Linked DNA regions of Homo sapiens: all the other regions are linked to region 1. Evidence: promoter capture Hi-C in human tissues and cell types (Jung and others, 2019). All regions are on one chromosome and are shown on one strand. The core of a region is centred on a gene start or on the middle of the fragment in contact, and the rest is flanking DNA. Distances in the headings are between cores, read along the strand shown.

Region 1 (4,451 bases), core at 572-3,071:
AAAAGGTTGAATAATAGATTATTATTATAATCGGCAAAGGGGGAAGTATTTATGCCACACTTCCTCCTTCTTCCTTCATGCCAGTGGTCGTCAGACTAAGGTCTGGTTTGGAGACAGGAGAGCGAGAGGAGTATGAGTGAAGAGAATAGAAACAGTTCAAAACAGGTAAGGAAGAAACCAGGTTATAGGTGAACCCGGAGGCTCTCCATGGGACCTTAAACTCTGACTTGGGAGCTGAGTATTCCTCTGGTAGTTAGTCCAGGGCTGGAGTATTTCCCAGAAACGTAAAGGCTTCTTTAGCGCCACCTGGTAGGTGTGTGGTTACCCTCCAAGGGAAAGCTTCCACGAAGAATAGACAGGGGCTTTGAGGAGTAGAAAGGTAAAAGGGAAGGAATGATGGATCAAAGGGGAAATGAGCTTTCCTGGAATAACAATCTCGTAGAAAACGGCAGGACGCTGGAGCGAGAAGGGGAAGTCACATGCCACAGGAGAGCCGCTGGAGCAGACGCTTGAGGTCCCCAATAATCTGGTGCAAAGACAGATGCACTTCTGGACCAGGTAAAGGCCCCCTGAGGTGGGTGCCGCACACGCGGAGCTCAGCGGTGGGAAGCCAGGATGAGGACGCAGCAGCGGATGGGGAGAAGGCATAAGACGCAGGCTGGGAATTCACCATCTCTGATTCTCCCTGGAACCTGCTCCGACCCAAGGCAGGTTGTCCTGGCCCAGGTCAAGATGCCCTCCCCGCAGCTCCCCAGGCTATTTGTAGTCGAGCGGTCACTCGGCGGCAGGCTCCACAGCAGAGCGCCTCCTCCCCGCCCCACACCCCGCAGCCCTGGCTCCGGGAGGCGGCGGAGGGGGGAGGGGACTACAGCTCCCGGCATGCCCCGCGCCCGGCCTCCCCGGGGCCGAGGGAGGGGGCGCCGCGCGGCGAGTGGGGACCTCGCTGGGTCCCGGCGTCGGCAGGGGACCCCGGGAGGGCGCCGGAACCCTGTCGCGCCTGCGTCGCACAAAGGCCGAAGGGCCAGGAAAGCACTGTGGGGAGTCGCTCCCCGTCCTGGCCCGTGTTCCACCGCCCGGGTGGGCGAGCCCTGGCACCGCCACCAACGAGGCGGCCCGCGGCTGGCAGCTCCGCTGGGGCCGCGAGGTCGGGGGCGGCGTGGCGTGGGAGGCCCGGCCTGGCCCCGGGCTGCGGCTCGGGTGCCCGCGGCGGTCGCCTCGCCCCGCCCCTCTCCGCCGCCCCGCGCGCGCCGGGGTGGGCACTGCAATCCCGACCCCCTGCCCGGGCCCGGGCGCTGCCGGCTGGGGAGCCTGGGGCCTCGGCCCGCGCACCTAGGCCGCCCCCCTGCCGAGCGCATGGCCGGCCTCGGTGCCTTAAACGACGCAGCCCGGTCCGGGACGGCGATGCCACCGGCCCCCGGCGGGACGGCCGCGAGGCTGCAAAGGCGGCCGCCTCGACCCGTGCCCGGCCGCGGGCTCCGGGCGCGGCGGAAGGGCGGCCCGCGGGGCCCCGGGTTCCGACGCCTCCGCAGGCCCCGCCGCCCCTCACCTTCAGCACGCCTTCGTCCTGTTTGGGGCTGATGTCCACTCCCTCCATGGGCAGCGGCGCCGACTGCGCCCCGCTCTCGGTCGCCTTCATCTCCTCGGCTGTCATCTCCGCGCGGCGCGCCGTTTATCCGGGAGCTGGTGCCGGCGCGAGCGCACTCTGGGCCGCGGGCGGGGGCGCTACCTGCGGGGCGTGCGGGAGGCCGGGCGCGGCGGCACTGACTGCGGACCGCGAGGAGGCTTGAGCACCTCTGCACGCGGCGCGAGAGCTGGGGTAGGTGGGTCAGGAGCGGCTCGGGGAGCGATTGGTCCCGCCCCGCCGCGAGGGAGGGGCTGGGAGGAGCGGGAGCGCAGACAGAGGGGGCGGGGTGCAGAACTTTCTAGAGACGGCGGGACTGAGCCGGTTCGGGCTCAGTGCTGCGGGCGCTTCGGAATTTTTTTTTCTTTTTTTTTTTTTGGTTCTTGCCTCCTTCTGGCTGCCTGCCCCCTCCCCCTTCTCCTGGGACCCTCGGACTCGGGATCTCCCCGGCGGCCTCCCTTGGCCCTTCCTCCCTCCCTCCCATCCCCGCCCGCTTCCCTGTCTAACCGGATTCTTCCAGATTCTTCTCGATCGATCTCCCGACATCACTCCACCAGTCCGCTGCGCCTGCGGCGGGGTGTGGGGAGCGCAGGCTGCGGGATGGCAGTGGCGGCGCCCCCTCCCCGGGACCGGCCGTCACCACGGGCGGCGTGGCCTCTCTGCTATGACCCGCGTAGACCCTTCCCTACTTGGGGGAAAGAGGGCAAGGGCGTGCGCGGGGAGCGGGGAGTGAGTGGACAGCGCTGCCCCGCTGCAGAGAGCCGGGGAAAGCGACCTCGATTTCCCCAGATCCGAGAAGCCCCGGCCAGGCAGCGATGCCTCGCTCAGCGCCTGCAGATGCTGCGAGCAGCGGGGTTGGCAAGGCATGGCCCGCCCAGCTCGGAACTCAGATGGGGCACACACTCAGGGGACCCTTCCCGGCGGTAATAAAACTGCCGTTTCCGCGAATGCTTACAAAGATGGGTTCCCCTCACGAAAAAAGTCACTCGGTTTTCCTAAAGGCCCACAGAAGGAGTATTTTCTTCTCAATGTTTGCTTCCCGAGTGTTTTTCGACAGGCTGTGGAGCGCGCAGGTGCCGGTGTCACCTAAGCTATGGTCGTGGGACCTAGAGAGCCATCTAGAGAGGGGCCTGGTTTTGCTCAGCACCTAACCCCAGTTTAGCATAGTGCCTGGTGAGTGATGTCCCAATAGTTACTGGCTGCATGAATTTTCCTTTTTTAAATTTCTTTTTCCAAGTCTTGGCTGATTTTTTTTTCTTTTTTTTTTTTTTTTGAGACAGGGTCTTGCTCTGTCGCCCAGGCTGCAGTGCGGTGGTGCGATCTTGGCTCTCTGTAGCCGGGACTACAGGCGTCCGCCACCACGCCGACTAATTTTTGTATTTTTAGTAGAGACGGGGTTTCGCCATGTTGCCCAGGCTGGTCTCGAACATCTGGTCTCAAATGATCCGCCCGCCTCGGCCTCCCAAAGTTCTCGGATTACAGGCGTGAGCCACTGCGCCCAGCCTGAATTTTTATTCCAATAATAACTGTATTTTTGGACTTCCCGTTATGTGCCCGGCACTGTGCGATTGGACGCCATTAGTCTCATCAAACTAAATTGAAAGCTTTTTAGAGATGAACTTTCAGCGTCATAATGTGATGATTTATTGTAGTCCCTGCCGACGGAACTTGAAAGGGATGCAGAAGAAAAAGCCCTTCGCTTCAGCAATTTACAGCCCAAATGAGTTGAGCCATAATGAAGACGTCTCTTTAGGTGGCTGGAGACAGCTTCAGAGGATACGGGGCGCTGCCTCTGTAGGGGTTAAATCCACTACTTTTATGCAGAAGTAACAGTGCCAGGGGTCACCCAAACTCCGGGAGACCAGGATGGTGGGTGCTGGCTTCCGGGGTGGCAGTTTACCGCAAACTGTCCTTGGCTTGCACCTACTGATTCTCCACGTGTGGCGGTTTCTTTTCTGCGTCTTTTTCTTCATCGGAAGCGGACAGTGTGGGACCCCCCCTTTAATTCTGTTCGGCACGTACATAGTGGAGCCCTTCAGATTGCCTGCCGTTACATTAACACATAGCCTAATACCCTAGTGGAATGAGCATGTGCTTTGGAGTAAGGGACGTTGGGCGGCCCATGTGTTATGTTAGCTGTTTAAATTGGGGCAGGTTAGTTAATCTTCATGTCTCGATTTCTTGTCTGTAAAATAGAGATAGTAACATTTGTAAAAGAGGGTGATTTAATGGTTAAAAAAGCGGGAATCTGTGTATGGTATCTAGCTCAGTCCTCGCCTCCAACTCCGCAGCTGGTAAATAACGGTCGTTTTAGTGTGATCTGATAGGCGCTGCAGTGGAGATGGGGACAAAGGGCTAAGAAAACAGAGGTCTGTGAGACAGGGAAGGGCAAGAGGGCAAGGTTCCCGGTGAGAAGCTCTGTCCCCACACAGTGAAGGAGGAAACTAGGGGACCACAGGCAGAAACTAGGAGAAACCACAGGAGGAAACTAGGGGTCTTGAATCCTGGAGCAGGAACTTACTGTTTCTCTTAGAATATTTCCTGGTCGTTTATGTGATATTTTTCTGATCATAAAAAGTACATATACTGTAGAAAGTGTGCACGTGTTTTAGTCTCTTTCCTCTATCTCCTCACCCTTTCCCCAGGCCATTTAAGTTAGTATTCTCATTAAAGATGTGTAACCGGTACCACTCGAAATTCTTCCAAAATGTCCCCTTTTTTTGCGGGAGGAAGTCAGCACACTTTTTCTCATCCACCTTATCTGTAGGTGACTCCTGCTGGGATCAGAAACTTTGTTTTCGTCACACTGAGCCTCTTAGAGCTGACCTGG
Region 2 (4,451 bases), core at 688-3,187, 770 kb after region 1:
TAAATGTCTTCCCCCCTTGGTTACCCTAGCGAAGTGCTACACAGGGGAATTATTTGTCTTTGTCTGCTCTGTGCCTAGCAAATCCTAGTAAATAACTGATAAATGCATGAATAAAACAAGTCAGGAGTTTAAAACCTGAGAAGAGGACAAAAATATGTGAAGTTAAATACTGAACAATAGAGATTGGTAATGGCTCTGCTCGGCCAGTGAAAGAAATTTGGGGAGAATTGACAAGGTAATAAAAATCCCAAGGCTGGTATTTTAGGTGAAAGCTTCTCCAAGAGGAGTTATTGGAGTCTTCAAAGGATGAAGAGGATTTGAGTCAGAAGACAGAAGATGGAACAGCATTTTGGGAGGCTGAGATGTGAGAGAATAAAGGAAAACAGGACGGCCCAAACTGTGTTGGGAGGCTAAAAGTAAAATGGGCCCAGAACCATTTTGGAGGCTTAGAGTAAACTAAGTCCTCAACAAGAAGGTGTCTGGCCCTCAACTCTGCAGAGAGTGCAGAGCTGGAACGGGAAAAGGTGACCACCACATTCACCTCTAGAGTCTCTAACACACACCACAACACCCAGGGTACTCACCTAATGGATGTCAACCATGGCAGGGGGCAGACAGCACTGCCCCAGCTGTGCTGAGACACCACCGCTTGGAATCAGCTCTTCCAGATGTTCTGTGGAACGCAGAACCATGGAACATGTCTCTGCACAGCTGGAGGTCATCTTTCCAGTCTGAATCTAAGTTGGAAGTGACCCTTCCCACTAGAAGGGGCCCCCTCGCCTTCACTACGACCACAGAATTGCACAAAGAGACAGAGAACGCAGGGTAAGGGAACTGAGAGCAGCACTTTGCAGAGGCCGTGGGGAAGGCTAAGCCTGCCTTCCCCAGAAATAAGTGCCTGGAGCCTCCACTGTGACAAATGCATAAATGAAGTTTAGTACCTAATCAGAAGAACTGTGAAGAAAAGTTGGCACTCCAGAGCAATCCAAACAAGAACAGTGCAGGATAGTCAGAGAAGACCCAGACTGGACTAGCACAGAGACCACAGCCATGGCCACACCAGCTGAGGGTCTGCACCAGCTCCTTGGAGGAGGGATGGGTGATTGGTGCCACAGCCTGCTTTGGTCTTCGTGGTTTGTTGCATATAAGTTCGTGGCCTACAGTGTATAGAGATCTCCTGACAGGTCAGAGTGCAGATGCTCTCAACAGGCCCTTTGGTTCATCTTAATCAAATCCCAAGACACAGGCCACATGTCAGAACCTGCTACTTGTCTGCCAGTATCCACTCTCCCACATGGCTGCCCAGAACAAAGACTGCATTTCCTACCTTTCAGTGGACTGAGTTCTGGTTGTTGGGCTGAGAGGGAAAAGAGATGGGTGCAACCTGGCTTTGACTCCCCTTCTTCCATCCTGCTGCCTGGACTGTGAACACAGTGGGAAGCCATCATGGGCCATGCAGGGAGGGCAACACTCTAGGTGGGCAGGAGCAACAACACAGAAGGGGCCTGGGAGTCTGACATGGAGACACCCTGGATTGCTTGAGAGAGAAATAAATGTCTACCCCCCTTAAATTCACTGTTATTTTGGGTTTCTATTATAGCAGCTAGCTCTGTGTTCCCCATCTAAGGATGTCATCTATAAATACCTGGCCCAGGTGGAGCTGGCCTGACAGTCAGAACCAAGATTCCTGGGCCATACGTGGAAGTCAGGAGAGAAGCCCCTTATGCAATTTTCTCATAATGAGCCTCAGGTTTTCCTGTATATCATTCTGCCACAGGGCTTGCAGTGCAGTAAATGAAAAGATCTAGGTAAATATCTCTGGATTGATTAAAAGCCTGTTCACTTTGAGCCAAGAGAAGGAAACCCAAGCTCAACATCTGTCAATTCCCAAAAGAGGGAGCCTCCTACAATGTCTGCACTGGGTACTAAGTGCAGGGCTTAGCTATTGCCTAATTCAACTCCTCCCCTTAATCTGGGAAGATTAAACTAGGTGGAAACCCAGGTTTCCTGACTCCCGGTGCAGTGCTCTTTTCAAGATATCTTACTGCCACTTTGAAGGCATTCATAATCTGAATGAAGTCTATTAAGCAGCAAAACATAATATCAGGCCCTGGTGTTCTGAAGAAGGTGTTGGGTAGCTATGCATTCTTCCATGTTACATCTGTCCTTTTTATTTTTCATTGGCAACCATAAGCTGTGAGCTGCATTTACTTAGAAAGGCACATTTTTGTCAAACTGGACTTACTAAGATGACTGGAAGCAGACATCCAAGAAGCACAGTAAGTACCTCTCCCAAATGACTTGTCCTGGAACAGTTACTAACAGCGCACCTCTGCCTGCTTTTGTGAAACCTGCATTCCTGGCATTTATGACAGGCTGAGGAAATAATGAGGAGAGCCCAGAGCTTCCACATTAGCCAATAGGAGGAAGTTCTCACTCGGCAGGTGGAAGCTTCTCCTGGGGAAATCCTGGAGGCTCGTTGTTCCTGTCAACTACTAAAATGTACCCATAAATTTCCTGTGACAGGAGACACAGTGTCTGAGGAGTAGAAAGTGATAAAAGCCAAAAATGTAAAAGCATTCCTGCCAGAACTCAGCCCTTCTCCACGCATGGCATTAAATATACAAGAAAGGAAGCCACTCTCCACACCCTACACTCCATCCCTGACCACTGAGGCTGTCCAGGGCAGTAAGACCAGAAGCCACAGAATAGAGAATGGGTTCTAAAGTTCACTCCAACATATGAACCTACAGAACGACAGAACACTCGATGCACCACCACCAAAGCAGGTGTTCTATTTGTCAGCTTGACTGTTTTCTTTCGTTTTTAATGGCAGACCCAGAACAAGTTAATAATTTGGGGGGCTCAGTGCAGAATGAAAATACAGGGCTCCCTGTTCAAAACTTATTAAGAATTTCAAGGCTGTGACAGCAGAGTATAAAACCAGGCTCAGAGCCCTTCTCAGTGGGAGACTGTACAAGCTGCACGTTCTCAAAGCTAAACCTGGGTAGACTCTACCTTCCACAGCATTCTCTTTTTATACCAGGTGGAATGAATGATTTATTTAAGTACAATAAGTCTTCACTTAATGCCACTGATAGGTTCTCAGGAATTGTCACTTTAAGTGAAATGATGATATAAGGGTATTACAAAATTGGTATAACAAAACCCATTTTACCGTAGGCTAATGGATACGAACAAGAGTTAAGGCTGGGTGACGTGGCTCATGCCTGTAATCTCAACACTTTGGGAGGCTGAGGCGGGAGGATCATTTGAGCCCAGGAGTTTGAGACCAGACTGGACAACATAGAGAGACCCCCTTCTCTACAAAAAATACAAAAATTAGCTGGGTGTAGTCACATGCACCTGTAGTCCCAGCTACTCAGGAGGCTGAGGCAGGAGGACCACTTGGACCCAGAGGTCCAAGTTATGACTGTGCCACTGCACTCCCCCGAGGGTGAGACTCTGTCTCAAAAAAAAAAAAAAAAAGTTCCTTAGGGCATCTTTCTGGTCACAAAAACATTACCAAACCAAAACAAAACCCCAAATTTCTAAATAAAGACCAAAACACTTCTAATACTAAACATTGAAACAAATGTGAGCTATACATACATTTAAGAAAGATTACAGAAATGAGATAATTATTTACCCAAGTATTCCGGTTCCCCTGAACTCAGGTGGCCAGAGCCTGTCCTGGCAGCTCAGTGTGCACAGCAGGATCCAATCCTGGACAGGAGGCCATTCCATCACATAGAGCACTCGCACACACACCCACGCTCACTCATGCTGGGACCCTGTCAATACAGCAGTTCACCTAAGTGCACAGCTTTGGGATGTGGGAGGAAACAGGAAAGGCTAAGAAAACCCATACAGATGTGGGGAGAACTTGCCAACTCCACCTAGACAGTGGCCCTGGCTGGGAATCCATTTTTTCTTCCCATCAATGTCATAATGAAAAGGTGTTGAACACAATAAATGTATTCAAAGACCTGCTGTACTTGCGATAGTCTGACTGTGTCCCCCGAAACGTATGTGTTGGAAACTTAACCCCCAATGCAATAATGTTGGGAGGTGGAGCCTTTTAGAGGTGTTTAGCTTGCAAAGGCTTTACTCTCATGAGTGGATTAACACCACCATGAAAAGGACTTGCATATCTCTCTCTTGCCTTCTGCCATGTGAGAAGCAGTAAGAAAGCCTTCACCAGATGCTGGCGCCTAGATCTTGGACTTCCCAGCCTCCAGAACTGTGAGAGAAAAGATGTCTTTTTTTTTTTAGATGGAGTTTCTCTCTTGTTGCCCAGGCTGGAGTGCAATGGTGTGATCTCAGCTCACTGCAACCTCCACCTCCCGGGTTCAAGCGATTCTCCTGTCTCAGCCTCCTGAGTAGCTGGAATTACAGGTGCCTACCACTACGCCCTGCTTATTTTTAGTATTTTTAGTAGAGACGGGGTT
Region 3 (4,451 bases), core at 715-3,214, 750 kb after region 1:
CATCTTGAAACTTGTGTACAAGTCATGATTTAATAGAATTCATTTCCAGACCCTCAACTTTCATATGTGCTCAGTCTTCACGTTCACCGGAGGACAACCCGGGGCAGAGCCTGGAGCCCACCTGCCGCTTCTCCTGTCTCTCAAAGGGGCATCCTTATCCTACACTTCAGCAGAGAAGCACACCTGTCATTCACCCTGCATCCTTCCAGGTCCATATCCCTGTGGTGTGAATGCCCCCAGGACACCAAACAAGGAAATCTAGGAAATACTGGTGCCCAGACAAGGAGACATTTGAAATACAGGTGTCTAGAAAGCCTCTTGAATCGGACAACATATCCCTTCGATCATGTAAAATATATTATTTCTGGTACATTTTATATTAAGAATTACCTCGAAAAGCTCATAATGTAAATATGTTGTTTTGCTCAGTTGTACATTAATAGTATCTGTGATGAAAATTCAATCCAAAAGAAGCGTATAACACAAAGCCTTATGTTTATAAAATTTTTAAATTTTAAATTTTAATTTATAAGCCTCTTTTTGTTGCAGAGTAATATGGTAGCGTGATCAGTAAAAGACTTTCCAGCATAAAAATATATCGTATTAGGGTAAAATTTTAAGAAGGAAATGGAATGTAAATATGTATCCAAGGAGAAAAAGAAATGATGAAAAATCTTTGACTGTTAAAAACAGGGCTTTTATATATCTTTGAATACATAATAGAAGGTATCAAATAGCTGCAGTGTTTATATTTTATTGGAAACTTTAAAAGAGTAATGCAACAATTTTATGTTAAACTGTCAAGATTTATAAAGCACCAGAAATTGCATCATTTACAACCATTTAAAATTATCATGAAACTTTTGGGATGTCAACTTGAAAACGCATGATGAGGCACAGACTTTTTCACAACTCTTTTGGGGGGATCTGCAAGCAAAGCACTGTGGAGGCCCTGGGTCAGCACAGGCTGCAGCCCCGTAAGGTCCTGGCTCGGCAGCCCCGGCCACTGAACGTTGGTTCAGGCTGCTGCTCTTCACAGGGAAGGCCAGGGCTACAGACCTTGGCAGATAAGTAAATGTTCATAAAACAAATGAACATCTCTGCTTTCTCATTCTCACTCTGTCTTCTATCCCCAACATGATCTTGAACAAGATGCCTCCCTTCTTGGGGTTTGTAGTCTTCTTGAGATTCTTGGAGAAAGCAAGCAAGGTGTCCTGTGGTCACATTATCCCAGCGGATATCAAGAATACCCTTAGCGGGCCGGGCGCAGTGGCTCATGCCTGTAATCCCAGCACTTTGGGAGGCCGAGGCGGGCAGATCACGAGGTCAGGAGATCGAGACCATCCTGGCGAACATGGTGAAACCCCGTCTCTACTAAAAATACAAAAAATTAGCCGGACGCGGTGGCAAGCGCCTGTAGTCCCAGCTACTCGGGAGGCTGAGGCGGGAGAATGGCATGAACCTGGGAGGCAGAGCTTGCAGTGAGCCAAGACAGCGCCACTGCACTCTGGCCTGGGCGAAACAGCAAGACTCCGTCTCAAAAAAAAAAAAAAAAAAAAAAAAGAATACCCTTAGCATCACTGTGACCCACACACCCCTAAGCAGTCTTTTTCAACCCAGATTGTTTGGATTTTATTCCACAACAGAGTCACTCAATTTTAAGTATGTTTTTAACCCAGAAAGGCCAAACAGAGCAGGCACTAGGACTTCACTGCCTATTTCTACCCTTTCAATGTTTGAGATGGAATTTTTCTCAGCCTCAGAAGAAATACTTTCAGTTCTGGCCTTCAATCAGGATTTATTGGACAGATCTGATTCTGCTGTATTTTCATTTACAGCCTAGAAGACAAAAGTGTCAGGTATTAGAAAGAACTCTGAGTTTAAAGCTTGTATCTATTACCACTTGGCTGTGTAACTTTAGCCAGGTCTCTTAATGTTCTTTGAGTATCAGTTCCCTCAACCATAAACCAAGGAACTTTCAAGGAATGGATTCTGAGTACAAAGTGAAATGTTAGTATGAAAAAGCTTGTCAAGGAAAAGTATAGACATAGCAGGGTACTTATTACCACAAAGATGGAATTTTCTGTCATCTTTGACAATCCATTGAAGCACCCAATAATCTTTCTTGGTCCAACCTGAATATCATTAACCACAATTCCAACCATTTTCTTTTTGTCTTTTATTCCTCTTTGGAAAAAGAGACTAGTTGGTCACCATCTCTTATGTAAGAATTAATTGTCTATTTGAAAAGAGGATGCTTAAAACCAGTTCTTCAGAAGTGAAAGTCAAGGTATTCGACATCTCCACATCACCCAGCCTACCGCTTAGACTTTGATAACAAAATTCTCTCACATTTCTTATAAAAGTCTAATTAAATCTCAACAATTTTATCCATGTAACCATTTTCTGCTTGAAAATTTCCCTTAAAACTCTGAAAGTAAATCCTATAGGGGAGGTAGTTAGATCAGCTACATTATTTGCTGTCACTTCTATGCATTTAGTGAAGGCTCACCAAGATGGATGTTCTGCAGAGAGCAGTTCAATGTTAAAAGAGTTTGGGAAGCACAGAGCTAAGAACATTTCCTATCACACAAAGACCTCATTTAAGCCATCTTTGATAGTTTCTACAATACCCAAATCATGAATGTTAAAAACAGAAACAAACGAACAAAAAAAAAATAGATGGAGTTTTGCTGTCCATCCTCAAAGTCTTAACTCTCTCCCTGCTGAAGTCATGGGTGTGCCACAGCTGGGTAGAAAAGTACCTGGATGGGAAAGCAAGTTGAATGAAGAGGTGATGACTTGAAAGAAAAATCTAGTGCCGTCAGGCTTTCCATGGCATCCAAGTAGATGCATTGGTCTCTGCCATCCTCCATCTCCTCTTTGCATAAATCCTACCCCCATCCCCATCTCCAGAAGCACTCTCTCTACATATATAGGCAGCCAACACTGACATGATGCCCCACAGGAACCCAAGAACTGTAATCCCAGCTCAGGCACAGGGATGCTCACCCCTATGGCCCAATGGTCCAAAATCATCCCTTATTCCTTCTCCCCTCCCACACCCAAACTGCAGACCTCCATCCTTTGCATCTGTGTGCAAACTCCTACTCATCCTTTAAGACTCAGCTCAAGAGTCCCGGGTCAAGTTCTTCTTCCTCTGTGTTCCCATAGAGCCTACCGCTATCTCTATCAAAGCACTAGTTATATTGCTGTAGTTATTTGTTTACCTCCTGTATTCCCAACTAGACTCTCAACATCTCAAGGGCAAGAACGATGTTGTACTTACCTTTGAATTTCCTTTACCAAGAATAGTACTTGGCTCACAGTAAGTGCTTAATAAACATCTGATGAATAAATGAATGATTGCTCTATCTATCCTGTTGGTGGTAGAGAATTAATCCAAAAAATATATTGCTAATGGTGCAATTTCAGGCATATTACAGGCTGGTAAAAGAGAAATTTTGAAACCAAGAGACCTGCCCTACTTCTATCAATCATCTCATAAAAGTATCTACATGAAAGGCTGCTCTTGAGCTGGTAGCTAATGTTCCTGGAAAAACTCCCTGGCAGGTTACCCAGGGAGATTAGTTTAAAGGGAGGTTGTTACACTTGTCCTCTCATCATTGTTTAGTGAGTTACTTAGCCAAAAAGATCCTCTACCAGGGGATTGGAACTCTGCATGAAAGTTTCAGCTCTTATTTGTCTATTAAAAGGCCCATGTTATTTGCAAAGGGCTGTCTGTTGGCCTCATAGACCAATATTCACAGCACCTGTCTTTTGCAATTTCCTACCTATGGACATTGTGTTTACTTATATAACATTTGCAATCCTTGCATTTAACAGTGTCCCATTTGTAACACCTGGATTTATCAATTTCCACTTCCCAGCATCTGTCTTTTACAGGCTTTTTTTTTTGACAAAATTTATGTTAAGGGATTTCACCTGTCAACATACCTGGGCACAGGACAGTCAGGGTGTTGCTGTAATATTGGAGTGAATTGCTAGGAAGTGACTTGCATGGGGAAAAAAACATCAGGTCAAGCAATAAAAAGGAGAAATACCATGTAAGCCAGATTTATTTCTACAATAACTGGAAATTAAAAGGAGAAACAGTTGTCACATGTCAAAGCTGCCCGGCAAAACTAGCACCCTATTAAGCATGGGTTCAGCTATCTCCAGAAATAGTTCCTGAATCATATCTCAACAATTCTCTTCTTTTATGTTTCTTTGACTTATCAAAAACTCTCCTAAAATCCATTCCTTATTTTGAAAACTGGACTCTGTATCTTAAGTGGCCAAACATAGCAAAATAATAAAGATAAGAAAGAAGTATCTGAGAAGCAGCACTAAGAATTCAGTGTCTGTGAGCAATAATGAGGGCTTACTGAGCTGGGAAGTTTTGGGGGTCACCCAAAGCTTGGGGGTCCAGTCTGTTACATAGTCGGATT

Evidence for each region. Contacts are between HindIII fragments. The study calls those that stand out against the background at their distance.
Region 2: a fragment that was not itself captured here is called in contact with the fragment with the promoter of FKBP4 in region 1 in 1 of the 25 tissues and cell types used here (dorsolateral prefrontal cortex).
Region 3: a fragment that was not itself captured here is called in contact with the fragment with the promoter of FKBP4 in region 1 in 1 of the 25 tissues and cell types used here (dorsolateral prefrontal cortex).

Annotation. Positions count from the first base shown.
Region 1 is chr12:2,792,340-2,796,790 of GRCh38, reverse strand. It overlaps FKBP4 (FKBP prolyl isomerase 4), which reads right to left and starts at 1,821. Exons shown (of 10, transcript NM_002014.4): 1 at 1,547-1,821. The coding sequence starts at 1,651. All of the region lies in intron 2 of ITFG2-AS1 (ITFG2 antisense RNA 1), which reads left to right. RefSeq lists enhancers at 1-358, 1,852-2,396, 2,397-2,942 and silencers at 773-1,182, 1,533-1,592, 1,623-2,002. The HindIII fragment of the contact is 5,309 bases long and covers 1-4,451 here.
Region 2 is chr12:2,021,502-2,025,952 of GRCh38, reverse strand. All of the region lies in intron 2 of CACNA1C-IT1 (CACNA1C intronic transcript 1), which reads right to left. It also overlaps a transcript of CACNA1C not described here. Among named protein-coding and RNA genes, the nearest start is that of CACNA1C-IT1, 7.1 kb to the right of the region's middle. The HindIII fragment of the contact is 3,937 bases long and covers 1-3,905 here.
Region 3 is chr12:2,038,383-2,042,833 of GRCh38, reverse strand. It overlaps a transcript of CACNA1C not described here. Among named protein-coding and RNA genes, the nearest start is that of CACNA1C-IT2, 7.7 kb to the left of the region's middle. The HindIII fragment of the contact is 5,912 bases long and covers 1-4,451 here.